Regions from separate parts of the Homo sapiens genome. Here all the other regions are linked to region 6. The links are contacts of gene promoters, found by promoter capture Hi-C in blood cells and fetal thymus (Javierre and others, 2016). All regions are on one chromosome and are shown on one strand. The core of a region is centred on a gene start or on the middle of the fragment in contact, and the rest is flanking DNA. Distances in the headings are between cores, read along the strand shown. Region 1 overlaps PGRMC1 (progesterone receptor membrane component 1). Region 2 has its middle 43 kb from the start of DOCK11. Region 3 has its middle 25 kb from the start of PGRMC1. Region 4 holds the start of WDR44 (WD repeat domain 44). Region 5 overlaps WDR44 (WD repeat domain 44). Region 6 holds the start of ZCCHC12 (zinc finger CCHC-type containing 12). Region 7 has its middle 49 kb from the start of KIAA1210.

Region 1 (3,410 bases), core at 596-3,095, 420 kb after region 6:
ACCTGTTTTATATGTCTGTCTTCTGAACAAAACAAATTCCCTGTTGGCAAGGACGGTGGTATAAACCACCTTTGTATCCTTCAAGAAGCCCAACACATTGCTGAGTATATTGCAGGCCTCTAATAAATGCTTTAAATTGAAACGTGGTAATGATGTTTTAGAAAGAATGAGAATGACCATTTGTGTTTTCTTCTCTACCTCCAGTCAAGTATCATCACGTGGGCAAACTGCTGAAGGAGGGGGAGGAGCCCACTGTGTACTCAGATGAGGAAGAACCAAAAGATGAGAGTGCCCGGAAAAATGATTAAAGCATTCAGTGGAAGTATATCTATTTTTGTATTTTGCAAAATCATTTGTAACAGTCCACTCTGTCTTTAAAACATAGTGATTACAATATTTAGAAAGTTTTGAGCACTTGCTATAAGTTTTTTAATTAACATCACTAGTGACACTAATAAAATTAACTTCTTAGAATGCATGATGTGTTTGTGTGTCACAAATCCAGAAAGTGAACTGCAGTGCTGTAATACACATGTTAATACTGTTTTTCTTCTATCTGTAGTTAGTACAGGATGAATTTAAATGTGTTTTTCCTGAGAGACAAGGAAGACTTGGGTATTTCCCAAAACAGGTAAAAATCTTAAATGTGCACCAAGAGCAAAGGATCAACTTTTAGTCATGATGTTCTGTAAAGACAACAAATCCCTTTTTTTTTCTCAATTGACTTAACTGCATGATTTCTGTTTTATCTACCTCTAAAGCAAATCTGCAGTGTTCCAAAGACTTTGGTATGGATTAAGCGCTGTCCAGTAACAAAATGAAATCTCAAAACAGAGCTCAGCTGCAAAAAAGCATATTTTCTGTGTTTCTGGACTGCACTGTTGTCCTTGCCCTCACATAGACACTCAGACACCCTCACAAACACAGTAGTCTATAGTTAGGATTAAAATAGGATCTGAACATTCAAAAGAAAGCTTTGGAAAAAAAGAGCTGGCTGGCCTAAAAACCTAAATATATGATGAAGATTGTAGGACTGTCTTCCCAAGCCCCATGTTCATGGTGGGGCAATGGTTATTTGGTTATTTTACTCAATTGGTTACTCTCATTTGAAATGAGGGAGGGACATACAGAATAGGAACAGGTGTTTGCTCTCCTAAGAGCCTTCATGCACACCCCTGAACCACGAGGAAACAGTACAGTCGCTAGTCAAGTGGTTTTTAAAGTAAAGTATATTCATAAGGTAACAGTTATTCTGTTGTTATAAAACTATACCCACTGCAAAAGTAGTAGTCAAGTGTCTAGGTCTTTGATATTGCTCTTTTGGTTAACACTAAGCTTAAGTAGACTATACAGTTGTATGAATTTGTAAAAGTATATGAACACCTAGTGAGATTTCAAACTTGTAATTGTGGTTAAATAGTCATTGTATTTTCTTGTGAACTGTGTTTTATGATTTTACCTCAAATCAGAAAACAAAATGATGTGCTTTGGTCAGTTAATAAAAATGGTTTTACCCACTATAGTGTGGTGACTTATTTAAATTTTTTTAAAAACCTTATTCTAGGGAATCTGATTCAGACATTTTACTTTGGCTTAAAATTCAGTTTCATTTTTGAGTGCAGAGTTTTTGTATTCCAAAAGAAACAAGGGGCAAAATTTCATGGAGACCCCACACCAAAAACCAAATACCAGCTTGTCCTGTTTAAGAAATAGTGAATTGAATTGCTTTTTTTGTGACTTGTCAAAGTTTTGCCTAAATCAGAACTTTCTAAACTGTAAATGGCAGACCTCCACCTTGAAGTCTATAGCAAGGTTCTTAAGAAGTAAGGTTACTGAAGGCATTGTCATTGCCAAGTGCTAAGGAAGGGTTTGGGTTTTTTTGTGTTAATGTATTGTCTGATCAGGAAAGTATCAGGAATCCTTACAGTAGCAAAGTTAATTCACCTCGTGTCAAAAGAAGCATAACAGATTTGCATATGCAGTCAGTTGTATAAACAAAGACAACCTATTAGTGTTTTGTCATTTTAATGTTAACATTGGCAGAGTTTTCTTATAAGAGATATACTTCCTGAACCAAAGAAATTTCCATTTTTCATGTTATCAAACCACATTGCAGGTACTTGTGAGTTTTTTTTAATGTGCTCTTTTTTTTTCCCACTTGGTTTCATTCACCAAATGTTTGAGTGCCTGTTTTGTGCCATGTAACCTGTTATGCCTTATGCTTTGGAGAAGGAGTGGGGGAGAGAAGTTGGGCCCACCTTCGCAGCCTGAAATCTCATGTGCATGTGAAGATTAGGCTACTCATTTTGCAAAGTTAAACAGGCTTGTCTGCTGCCAAGAGGAAAATATCCAGAGCAAGCTTGTCCAACCCATGGCCCACGGGCTGCATGCGGCCCAGGAAAGCTTTGAATGTAGCTCAACACAAATTTGTAAACTTTCTTAAAACATGAGGTTTTTTTTGCAATTTTTTTTTTTTTTTTAGCTCATCAGCTCTCGTTAGTGTTAGTGTATTTTATGTGTGGCCTAAGACAGTTCTTCCAATGTGGCCCAGGGAAGCGAAGAGATTAGGCACCCCTGATTTAGAGCCTCACTAAAGTTTCACTCCCAATAACCTGATTCTCTTCCATTCAGAGCTGAATCAACATTGTGTTGGTTACTTGGAAAGGAATATTGCTGTAAGGCAGGACTTTGATCTAAAAACTTCTCAAATCCAGCTAGCATATACATAAGCCATATTCATGTAAAAGGCACCATTCAAGAAGATGGTGGTGTCGGGGGGAGGGGGGGTAGTTGTTACAACCACCACATGTCCAGTGAAGGAGGGAGGTGTTAGGTTAACATCTGGCTTGCTCCCCACCTGCTGTCATCCTACCAGCTGCAGAGACAGTTTGTTCTCAACTAGCGTCTGTGGTTCATAAGCAGCATTTACTACGTGTTTTCAGTATCTGCATATCTGGCTTCCCTGCATAATGTAACATTCACCTTACTTCAGAGGGCCAAATTTATGCAAATCCTAGATCAAGAACAAGCATCAATACATTTCTTGCTGTTTCAGAAAGAGCTCTTTGAACCTGACGGACGCTTTCAGCTCTAAAGTGCCCAGATTTTACTCCAAGGTAGTCTGCCTTTGTTATGATACTTAGAGGCAGTTTGCTGTATATTTCACATGAAAATACAGTTAACTCTTGAATGGTCAAAGACTGATTATTGAGGCCCCTACCTTCTCTGACTAGACTGTCCATCCCAAACCCATAATTGTTTTTGCACATTGTATAACTTGAACACTTCCACCCAGGGCTGAAGGAATTAGGTGAAATTCCATGGAGTCAATTTTGCTACCTCTTATTAGCACTGATAAAATGTGCTAAAGGGAGGATCATCTTAAATCTAAATAACATTATTTCGGTTTG
Region 2 (3,159 bases), core at 580-3,079, 370 kb before region 6:
TAATACTGACACTTGTTATTGCTATATGAATACACTGAATTTAAAAGGTAGCATCAAAATATATAGAAAAAAAGAACACTATTTCTCTTTAAAATGAGTTTTAGATATTCTCTATAACGAGTGATATGGTATTATTAAAAAAAAAAAGATCACAGGTTCTAGAGTCAGGTAAACTTGGATTTGCTTCCTTCCCGTTAGCACATTCCTTGGGCAAGTTATTTATCCTACATTACTACTACTTCCTTATCTGTAATATGGGAATACCTAACTTAAATTGCAAAGATTTGCTAAGAAATCATGTATGTGTAAAGCTTGGTGCCTAACCAGTAGGTATACTCAACAGATGTACATTTCTTGCTGCCTCTCGCAAATCCGTGAGTACTCTCTCAGACCAAAAAAAAAAAAAAAGACGATATATGGAAACGCTTTCTTTTTGAGATGGAATTTTGCTCTTGTTGCCCAGGCTGGGGTGTAATGGCACGATCTCGGCTCACCACAACCTCCGCCTCCTGGGTTCAAGCGATTCTCCTGCCTCAGCCTCCCAAGTAGCTGGGATTACAGGTATGCGCCACCATGCCCAGCTAATTTTGTATTTTTAGTAGAGATGGGGTTTCTCCATGTTGGTCAGGCTAGTCTCCAACTCCCGACCTCAGGTGATCCACCCGCCTCGGCCTCCGAAAGTGCTGGGATTACAGGCACGAGCGACCACGTCCAGCCAGAAACGCTTTCTAGACATAGGGATTTCATGGACACACAGCATTTTAGGGATTGACATAGGGCACAGACATTTTTTAACACTTTTTTAACAGACACCATCTACTATCCCCACTTCATAAAAGATAAAACATTTTAATGCTAAAAACATAGGCCAAGCACTATCACATAATCTTAGAGCAACCAATAGTCTATTAAAATGAATACACTTGACTTTTGAAATAAGTAATTATATTCCCTTATTTTTCTTACGATACCATGTTATATTTTTCAATTAAGGAACCAATATTGGTATAATTAACTAAACTCCACGCTTTATTCAGATTTCACTAGTTTTTACCCATATTTGGTCATCATGTGTCCTTAGACCCCTCTTAGCCGTGACAATTTCTCAGACTTTCCATGCTTTTGATGACCCTGATAGTTTTGAGGAGTACTGGTCAAGTATTTTGTTGAATGTACCTCACATTGGGTTTGTCTAATGTTTTTCTCATGATTCAGCTGGGGTTGTGGACTTTAAGGAAGTGAATTGCTCTTTTCATTACATCACATCGAGGGTACGTTCTTATCACCTGGCTGAGGTAGTGTCCATCATATGGGCACAATTTAAGCAATCCATCAAACATTCAGGTTGTGCCTGTTTTTTATCACTGTGAATAACAATCAGAGATAGAGAAATATATATCTTGTCAGAATTTCCAATTATTGATCGAAGGTGGTAGGTCCTTAAAATGAAAGTACAAAGCATGAACTCTTAACAGTAAGCACCAGCCTGGGCAACATGGTGAGACTCCGTCTCTACAAAAAAAAAAAAAAAAAAAAAAAAAATCCAGACGTGGTGATGCATGCCTGTGGTCCCAGCGAACAGGGAGACTGAAGCAGGAGAATGGCTTGAGCCCAGGGGGTCGAGGCTGCAGTGAGCCATGTTCACACCACTGTGCTCCATGTGCTCCAGCCTGAGCAACAGAGTGAGACCCTGTCTCAAAAAAAAAAAAAAAAAGAATAAGCGATGTATGAATTACAAGAAATTCCTGCATAGAAATTGGGAACCCCAATTTGTAGTCCTGGTTGTGGTGGCCTTGTGACTTCAGGAAAGATAAGTAGTTCTCTGCAAGTCTATTAAAATGAAGTCCTTGGACTAAGATTTCTAACTCTGATGGTCCATGTGGTCCATGTGCTTGCCGGCAGTCCTTCAGAAACAGTGCAGCTGAGGATTTCCTCACTTTCTCATTCATTTATTCAAATTCCTGCTGACATAACTTGTGATCTTCTGTGGCATCAGAATGGCACAATCAGTGACTGAGTTCTACTCCTAGAACATCTAATTACAAGATCGGTATATTGAGAAGCATTTTCCCTGATTTTTTTTTTCTCAAAATATGTTCATCAACTGGATCAGTATACACTGTCTCCTCTAGGTGGTACCCAACATTTAAAATACTGCAGTGTATATTATTTGGATAAGAAGACCAAAAGCATAATTTAAAATTGCTAGGAGAAAATGCCTTAGATTTTCACCATCCCTACTTGGAGAGGGGGAGGAACATTGCAACAGATGTCAGTGCTTTGCTTCTCTTAGGACCAGAACCAAACAGAAAGGGGACCAAGAAGCAAGAAAGAATTGCGCTATTCTATTGAACCTCTGAGCAGGTTGCAAATATTAAGTTTTTAGTGAACCATGAAACCTAAGTTGTTTACAAAACAAAGTGAAGCAGTGCAAATTAGAACTGAATCTGTTTTCTAAGCCTAGAACATTAGTAAAAACTCAACTATTGGCTGGGCACGGTGGCTTACACCTGTAATCCCAGCACTTTGGGAGGCCGAGGCGGGTGGATCACCTGAGGTCATGAGTTCGAGACCAGCCTGGCCAACATTGGTGAAACCCTGTCTCTACTAAAAATACAAAAATCAACTGGGCATGGTGGCACGCACCTGTAATCCCAGCTTCTCAGGAGGCTGAGGCAGGAGAATTGCTTGAACCCAGGAGGCCTCTGGAGGTTGCAGTGGGCCGAGATGGTGCCACTGCACTCCAGCCTGGGCGACAGAGTGAGACCTCTGTCTCGGGGGGGAAAAAAAACTCAACTATTTTAAGTATGGCCAAAGTGAACTTAAATTGAACCTACCCTTGTTAAGTCAGAGTCCTTAATTAGGACAGTCTTCTCTAGAGTGAGTTTTGCATGAGGCAAAAAAGAAAGGCACACTTGGTCAGAATGAAGCTCTGTGTGTGGCAAGAGCAGGAGTGATGAAGTGGTATGGCAGCGAGAGGTACAGACAACTGGAGAAGCAGCAGCAGCTGGGACGGACACAGGTGGCAATGGGAGTGGAAGGTGGTGGGAAGCCTCAAAATCCACAGGAGATCAAGTTGAAGCAGATACAGAAGAGAATCATTCCACTTTATTGATTATTATGGAGTGATTTCACCCATAGAATACGTGTGAAAGTCAA
Region 3 (3,143 bases), core at 444-2,943, 440 kb after region 6:
CGCTCTGTCGCCTAGGCTGGAGTGCAGTGGCGTGATCTTAGCTCACTGCAACCTCCGCCTCCCAGGTTCCAGTGATTCTCCTGCCTCAGCCTCCTGAGTAGCTTGGATTACAGGTGTGCACCACCACGGCCGGCTAATTTTGTGTTTTTAGTAGAGACAGGGTTTCACCATGTTGGCCAGGCTGGTCTCAAACTCCTGACCTCAGGTGATCTACCCACCTCAGCCTCCCAAAGTGCTGGGATTACAGGCGTGAGCCACCACGCCAGGTCCCTTATGCTCAATTTTCTTGTGAACCTAAAACTTCTCTAAAAAATAAAGCCTATTAAAAATAATAATATCTGTTCTATAAGGGAATAATAATAATAATATGTAATATTTACTTAATAATATTTAATGTTTTTTAGAGTTTTCAAAGAGTATATACTGTGTCTCAGTTTCCTTAACCATAAAATAGAGATAATAAGATTTGGGGGAGAATTAAATGAGTGTGTACAGGTGAAATCCTTAGAATGTGCCTGGCACACAGGAAGTTCTCAATAAACATAAGTTATAATATTATCTATTAGTGGTAGTAGTCTTACTTTATCTCATTTGATTTATGAAGCAACCCGTGAGTAGGTATTTGCCTGCCTGTTTTACAGATGGGGAAATTCAGACAGTTTCAGGAAAATTAAATGACTTGCCCATACATTGAGAAGCCAAGATTTTCTAAATCTCTAATCTATTGTACAATTGATCTTAAATGTAAAGTTCCATTAAAAATCTGCTGGGGATGGTACACAAACAGGGCAAGGGTGGCACATTAATGAACATGCACCGAACATACATAGAACTTATAGTTCTAACCCATGCACCTGACTTAGCATCCCTTGTCCACGTTGGTTTCCAAGTCTAAAATGGACATATCTACTCTTGTTCCTCCAGTCTGTTGACTTTAACTAAATTGATCTCTAAGTTAAAGTTAAGAAGAGACAGCCTTTTCTAATGAGTGACAAAGTGAATTTGCCCTCTACTTGGGGACTGGAAAAACCCCAAAACATGAGTGCTTCCTGTTTACTTCATATTAACAAACTCTTTGAAGCAGTACTAAGGTGAACAAGATCACTAATGCTGGGAATTAGAGATTTAAGCTTCTATTTGCTTACTTTAAATAGCACTTCCTAATAAAGGAGTTTTTTTCTGAGCAGATATATTCAGACTCTATGTCACCAGAATTTCTCATTAACGTCAACTTTAGGGAAATTTAGAGCCAAACATATATGGCCAGATGACAGAAATTCTAACACAAAATTTACTGCGAAATCTTGGCTAACTTTATAGGTACAGAATTATTTAATAACTACCCTTAAAGGACAATCCAAGTTAACTTCCTTTAGAAGGCAAGGTTTGTAGAGACTGATTTTATAAAAGGTCATCAAAAGCAGTATCTAAGATACTATGTTCTAGAAACCCTTATGACAGCAACACTGAAATGGGATGATATGAGAAGAAACATGTTTTCTTTCTCCAAAAGCATTATCTATGTAGCAAAATGGAAAAAATCCAGTTAGTTTGCTGCAATTTGCAATAAGAGTCAACACTAAGCCCCCTCTAGGAGAAAAATTAATGTGATATTCAATTAAGATATACTGAACTCTAAAATTTATTTATAACCATTAGGTATTTATTTATACAACCTAATATAAAGCAATAGTTTTTTTAAAAAAATTCCAGAAAATATTCACCCAAAACAGAATTACTCTCTTCAAAGTAATCAGGTTTGTCAAGCTCTCCACTTGCTCCAGCAATACTGCCTTTGTTTAAAACACTGTAGAATGCTTCTCTTGGATTGATTTCAAAGCCTGGGTTACATTATTTTAAGTAGCTTCATGGAGGCCAATTTCTAAATTCCTTTATCATGGATTTGATATTTAGAAATTATCACAAATTATGTATAATCAAGAATGTTGGATAAAATGGATGACTATAAGAACAAACTGATTTTCCCAAGAAGACCCAATTGTTTTTGAAAAAAAAAAAAACAAAAAACTGACCTCCTTTAAAATCCTCACAACTTAAATTCCTGTTTCCCAAGGACAAAAATGACAAGAAACTGAGGCATTTGTTCTTCTCATATCTTTCATAGTGGTTCACAGGCTTTAGATCTTAAAATTGAATGTCAATAAATATTTCATCTTAAATTACTCTCCCAAAATAGAGGGCTAATTCTCTAATCTTACTTTTAAAAAATATTGAGGACCTAGTATGACCAAGAAGTAAGCTTTTTATATACGGCATGGCTTCATTGCTATAGAAGTGTCATTGGCAACTTCTTCTAAGTCATTAAAAATTAACTAGCATAGTGACTGGTACATAGGTGCACAACAACCAACTCCCATTGTGATGCTTCTTCCTTAAGGAGACCTCAAGTCAAAAGCTAATAAAATATATAGGAGAAGAAGGAGGAGGAAGAGGAGGAGGAGAAGGAAGGGAACAGAGGGAGGGAGTAATTTTATTTTTGGATATTTAGTGAGTACAAGTGCAGATTTCTTACATGCATATATTGTGCAGTGGTGAAATCTGGGCTTTTAGTGCACCCATCACCTGAATAGTGCACATTGTACCCAAAGGGTAATTTTTCAATCCTCACCTCCCTCCCACCCTTCCACCTTTTGGAGGTAGGGAGGGAGGTAGGGAGCCAGACAGTGGATCTGTATTTACTGACAAAAAAGGATGCCTGTGATAGTTTTTAGGGAAAAAATAAAAAGCAAGTGACAGAATAATAAAGTAACATATGATATTGCTCTTATAAAAGTAATATAAACACACATGGCCATGCACACAGACATAATATATAATGTCTGGAAGAATATACATCAAATTGTTAACAATATTTCCCCTAGAAAATGGATTGGGACTATAGGAGAAGAATAAACTTTCCCTTTTTATTAAATACTTTGTACATTTCCTTTTTAAAAATTTATTTTTATATATTTAGAGAGTACAAGTGCAATTTCTTACATGCATGTATTGTGCAGTGGTGAAATCTGGGCTTTTAGTGCACCCATCACCTGAATAGTGTACATTGTACCCAGTGGGTAATTTTTCAATCCTCACCTCCCTCCCACCCTCCCAGCTTTTGGAGTCTCCAATCTATTATTTTA
Region 4 (3,323 bases), core at 378-2,877, 480 kb before region 6:
AGATATCTAGGAAGAGAATACATTCAGGTAGTTAACATCTTTCCATAAATATATATTTCCCTACCTTATATCTGGTATCTTTCCATAATCCAAAAAGAAAACAAAAAAACCTATCTTAGTGAGCAAAACGTTTTTAAAAGTTAGTACTTTGAGTTACATTTTTATACCTAGGAAGTTAATTAACATGTTTAAGACACATAAAACCTAATAATTTTTAGGTTTGACAAAAGTCATACCCTCACAAGGATCCACAAATCCCTTGTCTCCAATTCTGAAACTTCAAAAGCTCTGGAAACCAAGTTTCTGTTTTTTTTTTTTTTTAGTAATTTATTTGACAGTCAAATAGATCTATCTTAAACTTATTTGGCAGAAGCGTCTGACTCAAACTGAATGAGGCTATTTACTTGTATTTATTTATCCCGTATGAACAATCATATATCTTGCTGCAAAAATATTAATATATTTGATTACGCAGTGTTTTCCCTAAACTCCCTGGGGTATTATAGAATATACAGTATATGACATTTGGTTTTTACCCAAGTCCACTAGACCACAGCAGACCTTGCCCTGATTGCTTGACAAAGTCTAGAGCCCCTTTCCAGTTTCTCTGAGACCATACCCCTGGCTCCAATCCAGCCTTTTCTTGAATACTAATTGAGGCTGCACGAACAGCTCAAAATGCCTATCATGATGTCAGTTGGAGAAATAAATATGCTGTGTGATCATACTGAAAGTCAATGTTATCACCTTGATGGTCAATGACCCGTGGTTTAAGAAGGAACATCTCGGTTTTTTAAAAAGTACCTTTCTATTTTTATCACCGGACGCTGGGCAGTTGAGGATCAGAATTAAGCCATTAGCTCGTAGGCTTGCAATGATATCTGCTCAATAAATATTTACCATTTAGCTGACGCACATCTTGGGCAGTATGTAAGAACTTCTCTCACACTGTGTTGGCAGCGACAGACATGTGCGGAGAAAAAGTAACCGGAGGCCTAATACTGGCTCAGCTCCAGCAATAAATCCATCATTACACCATGGAACTGGCACACTCCCCGTGTATATCTCAAGGACCCCACCCTCTGGCCGGCAGGATCATATCTAGGGATCTCAATTAGAGATCTCGTAGTGAATAAGGGCGAGTTATTCTCGTAACGCCAGAGGTGGTGGACCTGCCGACGCCCTAGGGTGGGACATTCCGGGCTTGGATAGTAAGACATCGTAAATATACGCCAAAATGTCCACACCAACGTTTCCCGAGAGTATTTCTTTACAAGTAAAAGACCGACTCAAAATCACCCCTCTCAAAACGCGTCTCTTTGGAACTGCAGAGTTAGGGAGTAAGACTTTCTGCCTGACCCCACCTACGTCGGCCGCGCGCTCTCAGAGCCAGGGCACCACGCTGCTCCTGCGCAGGTCCTAGACTCCTCCCTTCGGGAGGCTCACCCCCTCCCTTCTCGGCTACTTCCGGCCCTCACCGAACGCCCTCAACGCGCTTGCGCCGTTTTGATAGGCTTCTCGGGCCGAAGTAATCGGAGCGCTGCCTCTCTGGAACCGCCCCCGCCACCTCTTCGCCCCGCCCACGTATTACCGCCCCTCCGAAATCTCGCGAGGGTAGGTGCGCGTCGGTATTTTGCGGGCAACTAGCTCTTCCAGCTGCTGTAAATTGCTGCTGCGGGAGAAACTGGAGCCGCTGTAGCCGGCGCGCCCTTCTTCCCTTACTGCGAGGAGCCACCGCCTCTTTCGCGCTCCTTATACACCTATCACTGGGAGCGGTGGCAGCAACATTCCCTGGACCAACCGCCGCCTCTTCAGGCGGCCGCTTTGCCGGTCATTCCCGAAGCCCGGCAACTGAGGGCGGCCCCCTTTCCTTAACAGTCTCCTCGCTACAGATCGTCTGCTCCCTCAGCCTCGCCCGAGACCCACTTCCCCAGTCTCGCCCGGGTGGAGGTCGACGAGGAGGAGACAAGAGTCACCCTTCCTCCAGGCGGCGCCGGCCCCCTCACCCGCGGGTGTGTCCTATAAATGGCGTCGGAAAGCGACACCGAGGAATTCTATGATGCCCCTGAAGATGTGCACCTAGGGGGCGGCTACCCCGTGGGGTAAGTGACTGCAGCTATGACAGGAAGCCGGGCATCCCAAGCCCCCCGCATCTCCTGTGTCTTCCCCCTACACCCCTCCCAGGTCCCGCTGTGTCCGCCACCGCTGTTCCTCCCCGTCTCACTGGAGGACTTCAGAACCCAGACCTGGGGCTTCTTAGGGCGGGGTGACTCGGAGAAGGGGGAGTCAGCCACCTCGGGCAGCCTCCCGGCCGTTTCCCTACTGAACGGTCCCAGGGTCGGTCTCGGAGCCCGTTTCTCTTCTGATCCAGCCTTCTGTGAGGGGGAACAGCTTACGTGCCTGAGTCGGAGATTTGTATCTGTGGGGTTCTGAGCTTACCTTTCAAACATCCGTTTTGGCCTCGGGGACCGTAGATTAAAGGAGCAGTAACAGGAGAAATGTAACTTGTAGTTTTTTATTCTCCCGTTTACCGCTAACTTACCTATTCACTTCAGAGGTGGCTGTAACTCTCCCCTATTTGCCGTCCTCTTTTTCTTGCACACAGCGAAAAGGAGCGGGGGGAAGGTTGGGTATTTGCTTAAGAAAGTCCTCTAGCGAATGTACTCTAGATCAACAGTGTTTTATTAAAATAACACCTTATCGTGAGGTAAAGGAAATCGAATACACGGTCCCTATTAGGCAGAATGCGGTCTAAAAGGATGGCCAGACAGAAGAAATGTGCACAACTGACTGCAGAGGGACAAACAAGTGCTGAGTAATCTGGTGATTGGAAGGAGAGCCCCAGCTTTGTGTTCTTTATCTAATTCTGCAAGATGTTTTAGTGGTGATTAATATGGGTGATTCTGAATAGGAAGTACAGTAGTTGGAATGCTCGCTTGACTAGGACTTGTATTTACTTACCCACTTCTCCACTTTTCAAAGTTGGGGTAGTGCTTTAAAGCGATTTCGCCGAACTCCCCTACGAATGTACGTGGAAATAGAGGCAGTGAAATATATTTTCATGCTGTAAGAACTTGAGGATTGGTAAAATGTAGATGTTAGTATAAAGGACTAATATGGTTCGAGAAGTTCACTGCCTTCAATTCTCACACTTACTCCGTGGGAGTAATAACCCGCTGTGATGCAAGTATAGTTAGCCATGCATGCTAGAAGTCATTCTAAAAACTAATGTATGTTTATACACAATATGCACCAAAAAGTTACAGTAATAAAATCAGAAAGCAATGTACGTTGGTAGATTTCAGATGTTTGTCTTTCCACCA
Region 5 (3,153 bases), core at 28-2,527, 420 kb before region 6:
ACAACATGTAAGTTGACACATAAGAATGTCAGGTAATCAGAAAAATGATAAAATAACTCATAATATAGGTGGGTGCAGTGGCTCACACCTGTAATCCTAGCATTTTGGGAGACCAAAGTAGGAGGATCACTTGAGCCCAGGAGTTTGAGAGCAGCCTGAGCAACACAGGTAGACTCACTCTTTACCAAAAAATTTTAAAAATTAGCCAGGCATGGTGGCACACACATGTGGTCTCAGCTACTCAGGAGGCTGACATGGGAGAATTGCTTGAGCCTGAGGGATCGAGGCTGCAGTGAGCCGTGATCACACCACTGCACTTCGGCCTGGGTGACAGAGCAAGACCTTGTCCCCCACACCCCCCACCAAAAAAAAAAAACTCATAGCACAATCATTGTACCACAGTGCTTTTCAACCTTTTCTTATGCCATTGACACACAGAGAACATAATAGTATTTGCACTGAATGTTGGGGTAAGCTGGCCATCAGCTGATGGCCAGAGAAGATTGGCCCAGGCTTCCCTGGGCCCTGCCCTGTTGCCTTGAAGGCTGAGTGGGGAACCAATAGTATGGCCCACCTGCAATGCATTAGAAAGGCTCTGAATGTATTAAAGAACCAAAATGATGGTAACGATCTTATCCATCAAGGAATGAAATTTAGGGAACATTAAGTGCCATTTAAGAAGGCATAAAAGTAGATACTTTAGAACTATTACCATCTGAAATAATTAAAATGTCTGTTTTCTTGGCTTTTAAAGTGGTAGTAAACTTATAATTATCCAGAAAATACAGCTTCAGAGTTATAGGTAGCAGAGACCTTATAATGGCTTTAAAAATGGTTTATCATCTGTGTTTTCTGGTTATCAAAAGAAATACAGAAATATGTAAAATAGAAAATGAAAGTTTCTCATAATCTCAGCCCCAGAAATCAGTTTTGTTTTTTTTTTTATTATACTTTAAGTTTTAGGGTACATGTGCACATTGTGCAGGTTAGTTACACATGTATACATGTGCCATGCTGGTGCGCTGCACCCACTAACTCGTCATCTAGCATTAGGTATATCTCCCAATGCTATCCCTCCCCACTCCCCCCACCCCACCACAGTCCCCAGAGTGTGATATTCCCCTTCCTGAGTCCATGTGATCTCATTGTTCAATTCCCACCTATGAGTGAGAATATGTGGTGTTTGGTTTTTTGTTCTTGCGATAGTTTACTGAGAATGATGATTTCCAATTTCATCCATGTCCCTACAAAGGACATGAACTCATCATTTTGTATGGCTGCATAGTATTCCATGGTGTATATGTGCCACATTTTCTTAATCCAGTCTATCATTGTTGGACATTTGGGTTGGTTCCAAGTCTTTGCTATTGTGAATAATGCCGCAATAAACATACGTGTGCATGTGTCTTTATAGCAGCATGATTTATAGTCCTTTGGGTATATACCCAGTAATGGGATGGCTGGGTCAAATGGTATTTCTAGTTCTAGATCCCTGAGGAATCGCCACACTGACTTCCACAATGGTTGAACTAGTTTACAGTCCCACCAACAGTGTAAAAGTGTTCCTATTTCTCCACATCCTCTCCAGCACCTGTTGTTTCCTGACTTTTTAATGATTGCCATTCTAACTGGTGTGAGATGATATCTCATAGTGGTTTTGATTTGCATTTCTCTGATGGCTAGTGATGATGAGCATTTTTTCATGTGTTTTTTGGCTGCATAAATGTCTTCTTTTGAGAAGTGTCTGTTCATGTCCTTCGCCCACTTTTTGATGGGGTTGTTTGTTTTTTTCTTGTAAATTTGTTTGAGTCCATTGTAGATTCTGGATATTAGCCCTTTGTCAGATGAGTAGGTTGCGAAAATTTTCTCCCATTTTGTAGGTTGCCTGTTCACTCTGATGGTAGTTTCTTTTGCTGTGCAGAAGCTCTTTAGTTTAATTAGATCCCATTTGTCAATTTTGTCTTTTGTTGCCATTGCTTTTGGTGTTTTAGACATGAAGTCCTTGCCCATGCCTATGTCCTGAATGGTAATGCCTAGGTTTTCTTCTAGGGTTTTTATGGTTTTAGGTCTAACGTTTAAATCTTTAATCCATCTTGAATTGATTTTTGTATAAGATGTAAGGAAGGGATCCAGTTTCAGCTTTCTACATATGGCTAGCCAATCCAGAAATCAGTTTTAATAGCATGGTGTATTCGCCATAGAATTTTTTTTTCTCGTAAAAGCGGGGCTACTCTATGTCTATAGTTTGTCAACTTGCTGTTTTTTGTTTTTTTTGTTTTTTTGGTTTTTTTTTAGAAAATCAAATATATCATAGACATCTCTTTATATCAGCACTAATAATATATATATTGTAGTCTTTCTGAGAGCCAGATATGAGAGTTAAGTGCTTGGGATATAACAGTTAAGACATTAAGAGGCCAGGCGTGGTGGCTCATGCCTGTAATCCAGCACTTTGGGAGGCCGAGGCAGGTGGATTACCTGAGGTCAGGAGTTCACGACCAGCCCGGCCAACATGGTGAAAGCCCATCTCTACTAAAAATACAAAAAATTAGCTGGGCATGGTGGTGGGCGCCTGTACTCCTAGCTACTCGGGAGGCTGAAGCAGGAGAATTGCTTGAACCCAGGAGGCAGAGATTGCAGTGAGCTGAGATCATGCCTTTGCACTCCAGCCTGGGCATCAAGAGTGAAACTCTGTCTCAAAAAAAAAAAAAAAAAAAAAAAACATTCAGGATGGGTGCAATGGCTCATGCTTGTAATCCGAGCACTTTGGGAGGCCAAGGCAGGTGGATCACTTGAGTCCAGGAGTTCAAGACCAGCCTGGGCAACATGGCAGGACCCCGTCTCTACAAAAAATACAAAAATTAGCCAGGCATGGTGGTGTGTGCCTGTAATCCCAGCAACTCAGAAGGCAGAGGCAGGTGGGTCTATTGATCCTGGGATGTCAAGGCTGCAGTGAGCCAAAATCATGCCACTGCACTCCAGTCTGGGCAACAGAGCAAGACTCTGTCTCAATTAAAAACAATTTATAAAAAAGACATTCGTGGTCTCTGCCTTCATAGAACTTCTGTTAAATGGGAGAAATAGGCATTAAACATGTAATTGCACAGATAAGTCTAGCTACATTTGTAGTGATTGCTATAAAAGAAAAGTTCC
Region 6 (3,406 bases), core at 907-3,406:
ACAGCAGCTGAAAAGCATCAGACTGTTCACTCACTTCCAAACATCAGGAGTCAAGAACAAGCAACTCCTTTGCACTTGGGCAGTCCAAGTGCACTTGGTCTTGACCCCCCAAAGTTCCCACAGGAGTCTCTTAACCACACTTTACATGAGAGAAGGAAGGCTTGCTTTCCCAGAACCAGAAGTAAGGGAAAATGGAGTGCTGCAGGCTGAATTATGTTCCCCCAAATTCATTGTAATCCTAACCCTCAGTACCTTAGAGTGTGACTGTATTTAAAGATAGGGCCTTTAAAGAGGTTATTAAGGTAAAAATGAGGCCCTTAGGGTGGGCCCCAATCTGACTTGTGTCCTTATAAGAAGAGGAAATTTGGACACACTGAGAGAACCCAGAGGCACATATGCACAGAGAGGATGGCCAAGCAAGAGGGCAGCCATGTGCAAGCCAAGGAGAGAAGCCTCAGGAGAAACCAACCTTGCTGGCACCTTGAAGTTGGACTTCCCAACCTTCAGAACTATGAGCAATACATTTCTGTTGTTTATAAACCACCCAGTCTATGGTATTTTGCCATAGCACCCCAAACAGACTAAAACAGCACTGTAACAAATTATCACAAACTTGGCTTAAAACAAGAGAAGTTTAATTTCTCACAGTTCTAGAAGCCAGAAGCTTAACATCTGTTTCTCTGGGCTGAATTCAAGGTGTCAGTAGGACTGTGCTTTATTCCTTGCCTCTTCCAGTTTCTGGTGGCTGCTAGCATTCCTCTGCTTATGGCCACATCACTAATCTCTGGTCATTGCCTTCTCTTCTTGGTGCACCAACTCTCCCTCTTTTATAAGGGCACTTGTGGTTTAGATTTCAGCCTGCCTGGAAAATTAAGTCAAAAAGCCTTAACTTAATCACACCTGCAAAGACCATTTTACTTTATAAGGTAACATTTACAGGTTTCAGGGATTAGGACTTGATACATTTGGGTGGCCATTATTTAGCTTCATACAGAGTCCGAAATCTTTGCATACAATTTCAGGAAGATCATGGATTCCAGGTAGGCACATCTGCTCTGGAGTTGCATTTCACCACAGATACCTGTGGACAGATATTGGAGACAGGCTCATTTACTTATTCACAAACCTTGCTACAACTCAGAACCAACCGCAGCGCCGGTTAAAAATACTAAATACAAAACCACATCACAACCGCTAGTCCTAGTAAATCTGAATCCACCAGAGTTGGGGCCCAGAGCCTACATTTCTTTTCTTTTCCTTTTTTTTTTTTTTTTTTTTTTTTTTTTTTTTTTTTTGAGAGGGAGTCTTGTTCCCTTGCCAGGCTGAAGTGCAGCGGTGCGATCTTGGTTCACTGCAACCTCCGCCTCCCAGGTTGGAGAGATTCTCTAGCCTCAGCCTCCCAAGTAGCTGGGATTACAGGCACGCGCCATCATGCCCAGCTGATTTTTTTTTTTTTTTTTGTCTTTTTAGTAGAGACGGGGTTTCAACATGTTGGCCAGGATGGTCTCGATCTCTTGACCTCGTGAGCCGCCCGCCTCGGCCTCCCAAAGTGCTGGGATTTCAGGCGTGAGCCACCATTCCCGGCCAGAAGACTGCATTTCTAACAAGCTCCCCCAAATGACTCTGATGTCTTGCCCCCATACTTGAATGGGTATTGGTTGAGAGCCTTGTTCTCCAGCTCTCCTCTCTGTTAAATGGACATACTGCTACTTCTTTCACAGTAAAAGAGGAGATGTGTGTGAAAGCCTGTTTCCGCAATGCACGTGCTAATGCTCTTCCCGCCCCTTCCCCTCTTCCCCGTCTTTTCCCTATACCAAGGTGAAGAACTTTTATTATTCACTTGATTTTGGACCCACTTCGTGTTTAATGCACCTGGCCTAAGATGCAGAGTTGAGCCCAGGGAGAAGGGACGGGTTGGGGGAGGAAGAAAGAGTCGCAAATTCCCAGGCAGATTGGCTCCATCGGTCTAATCAAGCTGCACTTGACGCTCCGCGGGCCTGCTGCGCCCCCGCCCCCTCAGGCGAAAACTCGCCTCTGCCCAAGGCTGTGCGGGGCGTCCGCCCCCGCACTTCGCTGATTGGCCGCACTAGCCCGCTCGTCACGCTCTTTTGTCTCAGCTGGCAGAGGATAAAAGCCGCCGCGGCTGCCTTAGGAACGGCGCTGCCTCGTCTCTGCTACCCCTGGTTGGGCGGCCCTGCGAAGCAGCTCCTTCGGGCAGCCCCGGGTCGCTTAGCGGCCAAGGAGGCTTCAGTTCTTTGCCGCCTGCAAGGCGGAGACCAGAAGGCGGAATCCACAGCTGGCGACGCGGGAGCATCTGCTGTCCACCAGCGGAGCACAGGTAAAGAATGGGGGTGTGATTGCCCGGCGGGGAGAGGGGTGGGGGAAGACCCACCAGTACTGGGCGGCTCCCAGCTTGGAGAATCGGTGACTGTGAGGCAGGGGTAGGAGTACTCTCGTGGCCCGGCTGCGCTGAGGGAGGAGGTGGGGTTCACCTGGATACTGCGGGCTAGGTAGGATTTGCCTGGATTTGGGGGTGGGAGGAGAGGCGAGGAGTAGCGGGGGGAGGAATCTCGAGCTGTTTGCTTCGAACATCCTTTGCATCTCCTCATCTCTTTCTGGGAGGAATATGTGGGTGGGTGTGTCCAACTCCTATTCCCTTTCTCCGTGGCAGGCCATCAAAGCCGCATCTGAACTTGAATTCTGTGCAGCTGATTGCAGAGCTGGTAGGCCGACGGCTTCCCGGGGGAAATGTAATGCTGGAGGGTGGGGGGCTGGTCTCTGGCTTATAGTCAGGAGGGGGCAGAGAGAATTTTTCGCCTGGCAACAGCGGAGGTGGTGGGTAGCAGGATGACGGGTGAAGCTGCTTCTAACCCTTCCCTTCTCTGGCCTTCTCCGCTGTGGCGCAATCTTGAAACCTCAAGGACCCGGATCTGCGACCCCCTGTGGACAGAGGTTGACCGTACCCCGGAGAGGAGCTTTCTCACGGAGGGCACTGGTTGCAGAGGCTGGAAGTGAAATAAAGACGCGCTCTTGTTTCAGAGTTCGTGTAAGAATCTGAGAAATAACAAGGGGGACGGGCGTGGGGGGCACTTTGAGAAGGGGGTGTGGTTGAGACCAGAGACCATGAGGTTAATGAGATCTTATTTTATTTCCACAAATCTGCGATCATTGTACTCTATTTGGAGAGCCCAATATCAGCTCCAGACACTGCTACACCTAGAATTTGAAGCAACAGTTACCGTCCCTCTTGGAGGACTGGTGGGAGGGATGGATGTGGCTGCAAAAAGCACCTTGCTAGCACGCAGGCATCGGGTAGCTCTGGGAGGTTGTAAGTGTCAATCTCCTACAGGATTATTTTTAGGGTAGTGGGCAAATATAAAATGTACTGCAGGATATTCAGGTAGGA
Region 7 (3,504 bases), core at 731-3,230, 350 kb after region 6:
GAAGCAAAAAAAAAAAAAAAAAAAATAGCAGAGATCCCATTAACAGGCCTAATTCCCTGCTGTTTAAAGCTTGGAATAAAAAAGATGTTTCCTGAGTGGATTTCAAAGTTCTTAAAGCTAGCAATTTGTGAGGTTTCTTAGCAAGGTCTCATAATAATCAAACAGGTTTTCTATGCAGGAGGATATGGGGGTGGAGGGTGAAGAGTGACATCCCTACCTGTGTGCAAACATTTGCAAAGAGGCTCCCTCCTCTCCCTTCTTGTCCTGAAATGCTGAAGGGACCTTCCCCCCATAAGCTCCCCATACAAAAAAAAAAAAAAACTGTGGTTCTTGCTTGGGAGGTAAATAAACCTATAGCCATCTGCAGAGTTGACTTAACCACATCTCCATTTTTTTATAGCATATGTTCCTCTACCACTGCAACTTCTTTATAAAATGGGGATGACAATGGTCCCTGCCTCAGAGGGTTGATGTGAGGTTTAAATGAGATTTTCCGGGTGAATACCTCAGAATGAGGCCTGGGCACACCACAAACTCTCAATAAATGTTAGTTATTCTTATTCATGTTGTTGTTTTCTTTGGCTCACTGCAGTACAAGCCAAGCCATTCCTTAGATATAGCAGAGTGATAGCCAATAGCATCCATCTGGCCCCTTCCTCTCTAGTGGACTTACATAGGACCAGGCTGCTAAAACTATCCAGGGGGCAGTAGGTAGGGAGGAGGAAGTAGAAGGGAGGTGGAGATAAGAAGACAGTGGAGTCTCCGCTGGGCTTAGAAAGACCTAGAAGTCTGCTCTGTCCGGTCGCACACACTGGTGTAGGTTGCCCATCCTCTTTCTTTTCTTTAATCTGCGTTAGTGATATCTCCATGCCTTCTTTTTTCCCTTTATGACTGTCCTTGATGTGCATTTCCCCAAATTTCATCTGGATGTGTGCTAGGCCAGAAGGAAATGACCACAGAGTGTGATACCTGCCTCTAATCTTCACTCAGGGCTGGCCATCAATTTGCCACTCCCACTAGTGTGATGATGTTACCCCTAATTGAGTGCACTGAATCAGTGCTTCACCATTCAAATGGTAATTGTTCCCTCTCTCAGATTCTCCAAATGGAAGTCCTACTTTAGCACCATGTTAGCAGCAAATGGAGAAGTGGTAGCCATCCTTCCCAAAACCTACTCCTTCTCTATTCCCTTGTTTCAATTAGTTTTGTTTACAATAACTTTGGTTATTTCTTTAAACAATTTTTCTATGCAGAAGGCCATGAAGGCATTTTAACCAGCCCAACCCTCTAAAGGATGCTCTCTGAAGTCCAGCCAGTCTACAACACTGTGAGGGGAGCCCTGTAATCTGCTCTTCAGAATATACCCTGATCCTTATTTTGAAATTCTGTAAGTGGTACTTAATAAGGATGCCAGCTGAGTAGCACCAAACAAATAAGACCAAAAGAAACCTCCACAACTCCTGGTAAATAAGCAACACAGAACATCTGATTTTACCTAAATCGAATCTTGAGTGTCTCTTGGATGAAATTTTTAAAATAAAAAATAAAAGTGAATCCTTATTTAGTGGATATAACAAAAACCATAAGAAGAGAGTAACCAGCATGCTCAGAACAAGTCCAACTACCCCCACAAAACAGACTCCACTGCCATTGGTCACAGTCACATTCCTCTGGGACCCTGGAGACTACATATGCAAAGAGCCACAGGTTTTGGGGGCCTGGTGAGCAAGGGTCAACAGATGACAAATTGTGTGGGGCCCAGAGCCCAAAGAGCCAGTTAATATCTCTCCAACAATGGCCCTTCTGGAGGACACTGGCCCCATTTTTCTCTTGGTCCCATTGTTCTGCCCAGGACCCAGGGTTTCAAGGGCAGGCTCCAGCTGCCTTTGATGACAAGACTAGGTTGTGAGAAACCACAGATGGGAAATGGTGGCATATGCACTCTGGGTCACACTTACAGAGGCCATTAGAGCAGGGACATTCAGCACCCAGCCATCTGGCCACTGCAGGAGGAGAGCAGGACCCTGCCTTTTGAACAACTCTCCAAGGAGCCCCTCTGTCACCAACTTATCACTGTGCAGTCCTGTGATCCTCCGGATCTCTCTTTTTTTTTTTTTTTATACTTTAAGTTTTAGGGTACATGTGCACAACGTGCAGGTTTGTTACATATGTATACATGTGCCATGTTGGTGTGCTGCACCCATTAACTCGTCATTTAACATTAGGTATATCTCCTAATGCTATCCCTCCCCCTTTCCCCCTCCCCCCACCCCACAACAGGCCCCAGTGTGTGATGTTCCCCTTCCTGTGTCCATGTGTTCTCATTGTTCAATTCCCACCACTTTTTTTTTTTTTTTTTTGAGACGGAGTCTCGCTCTGTCGCCCAGCACAACAGGCCCCGGTGTGTGATGTTTCCCTTCCTGTGTCCATGTGTTCTGATTGTTCAATTCCCACCTCTTTTTTTTTTTTTTTTTTTTTTTTGAGATGGAGTCTCGCTCTGTCGCCCAGGCTGGAGTGCAGTGGCACGATCTAGTCTCACTGCAAGCTCCGCCTCCCGGGTTCACGCCATTCTTCTGCCTCAGCCTCCCGAGTAGCTGGGACTACAGGCACCCGCCACCTCGCCCGGCTAATTTTTTGCATTTTTAGTAGAGACGGGGTTTCACCATGTTAGCCAGGATGGTCTCGATCTCCTGACCTCGTGATCCGCCCACCTCGGACTCCCTAAGAACTGGGATTACAGGTGTGAGCCACCGCGCCCGGCCTGAATCTCTTTTTATATCACTGCCTCTCCATCCCCAGCCTGGTGCCAGATGCCAAGGCAATAGCCACGCTTGTGGGGCCAAACCAGGAACCCATGTGTTAACAAAGCAGCTGGTTCTTCCATGCAATCTGGATCCAGCTGTAAATATGGCAGTCATGAGGAAGGGCACAGAGCTGGTGAAGAAATGCAGCAAGTCCACTTTTCCTTAGGCATGTGGAAATCATATGCTTTGCTGAGTGCTGTGACACTTTTTTTTCTTTTGAGACAGGGTATCACTCTGTCACCCAGACTGGAGTGCAGATCTCAGCTCACCACAACCTCCACCTCCCAGGCTCAAGCGATTCTCCTGCCTCAGCCTAACGAGTAGCCTGGGATTACAGGCTTGTGCCACTATCGCCCGGCCAATTTTTTGTATTTTTAGTAGAGATGGGGTTTCACCATGTTAGCCAGGCTGGTCTTAAACTCCTGACCTCAAATAATCCACCCCCCTCAGCCTCCCAAAATGCTGGGATTACAGGAGTGAGCCACCGCACCTAGCCTGCTGTGATGAATTTTTAAAACAATTTTAGATTGGGTTCACTCTGATTGCCAAATCTCTACTGCTAACTGCTGTGCACACAGGGAGATCACACCGGTTTTTGTTATGAATGTAAGTCAGGAATGGATTGAAAAGTCATAGATGTGCTGTAATAAACTCTCAGACTGGAATACAAAAATATTTTAATTCCCTTGGAGCCAGACCT

The links. Contacts are between HindIII fragments. The CHiCAGO score rates a contact against its expected background, and 5 or more counts as called.
Region 1: a fragment that was not itself captured here is called in contact with the fragment with the promoter of ZCCHC12 in region 6 in 3 of 17 cell types (activated CD4 T cells, M2 macrophages and M0 macrophages); the score reaches 6.5 in activated CD4 T cells.
Region 2: a contact is called between a fragment that was not itself captured here and the fragment with the promoter of ZCCHC12 in region 6, in 1 of 17 cell types (neutrophils). The highest score is 6.1, in neutrophils.
Region 3: a fragment that was not itself captured here is called in contact with the fragment with the promoter of ZCCHC12 in region 6 in 3 of 17 cell types (M2 macrophages, activated CD4 T cells and M1 macrophages); the score reaches 7.6 in M2 macrophages.
Region 4: the fragment with the promoter of WDR44 here is called in contact with the fragment with the promoter of ZCCHC12 in region 6 in 3 of 17 cell types (naive B cells, naive CD4 T cells and activated CD4 T cells); the score reaches 5.6 in naive B cells.
Region 5: a fragment that was not itself captured here is called in contact with the fragment with the promoter of ZCCHC12 in region 6 in 1 of 17 cell types (neutrophils); the score reaches 5.3 in neutrophils.
Region 7: a contact is called between a fragment that was not itself captured here and the fragment with the promoter of ZCCHC12 in region 6, in 2 of 17 cell types (M1 macrophages and M2 macrophages). The highest score is 5.5, in M1 macrophages.

The regions. Positions count from the first base shown.
Region 1 is chrX:119,242,947-119,246,356 of GRCh38, forward strand. PGRMC1 (progesterone receptor membrane component 1) reads left to right here. Exons shown (of 3, transcript NM_006667.5): 3 at 205-1,520. The coding sequence ends at 308. Among named protein-coding and RNA genes, the nearest start is that of PGRMC1, 8.4 kb to the left of the region's middle. The HindIII fragment of the contact is 1,024 bases long and covers 1,334-2,357 here.
Region 2 is chrX:118,450,974-118,454,132 of GRCh38, forward strand. No RefSeq gene overlaps it. Among named protein-coding and RNA genes, the nearest start is that of DOCK11, 43 kb to the right of the region's middle. The HindIII fragment of the contact is 3,040 bases long and covers 310-3,159 here.
Region 3 is chrX:119,259,742-119,262,884 of GRCh38, forward strand. No RefSeq gene overlaps it. Among named protein-coding and RNA genes, the nearest start is that of PGRMC1, 25 kb to the left of the region's middle. The HindIII fragment of the contact is 1,130 bases long and covers 1,129-2,258 here.
Region 4 is chrX:118,344,479-118,347,801 of GRCh38, forward strand. WDR44 (WD repeat domain 44) reads left to right here and starts at 1,628. Exons shown (of 20, transcript NM_019045.5): 1 at 1,628-2,102. The coding sequence starts at 2,026. RefSeq lists enhancers at 859-978, 1,169-1,218, 1,760-2,303. The HindIII fragment of the contact is 5,332 bases long and covers 1-3,323 here.
Region 5 is chrX:118,399,738-118,402,890 of GRCh38, forward strand. All of the region lies in intron 8 of WDR44 (WD repeat domain 44), which reads left to right. Among named protein-coding and RNA genes, the nearest start is that of MIR1277, 15 kb to the left of the region's middle. The HindIII fragment of the contact is 5,488 bases long and covers 1-3,153 here.
Region 6 is chrX:118,821,668-118,825,073 of GRCh38, forward strand. It overlaps ZCCHC12 (zinc finger CCHC-type containing 12), which reads left to right and starts at 2,157. Exons shown (of 4, transcript NM_173798.4): 1 at 2,157-2,338; 2 at 2,672-2,723; 3 at 2,922-3,046. The HindIII fragment of the contact is 2,857 bases long and covers 663-3,406 here.
Region 7 is chrX:119,175,559-119,179,062 of GRCh38, forward strand. No RefSeq gene overlaps it. Among named protein-coding and RNA genes, the nearest start is that of KIAA1210, 49 kb to the left of the region's middle. The HindIII fragment of the contact is 3,827 bases long and covers 68-3,504 here.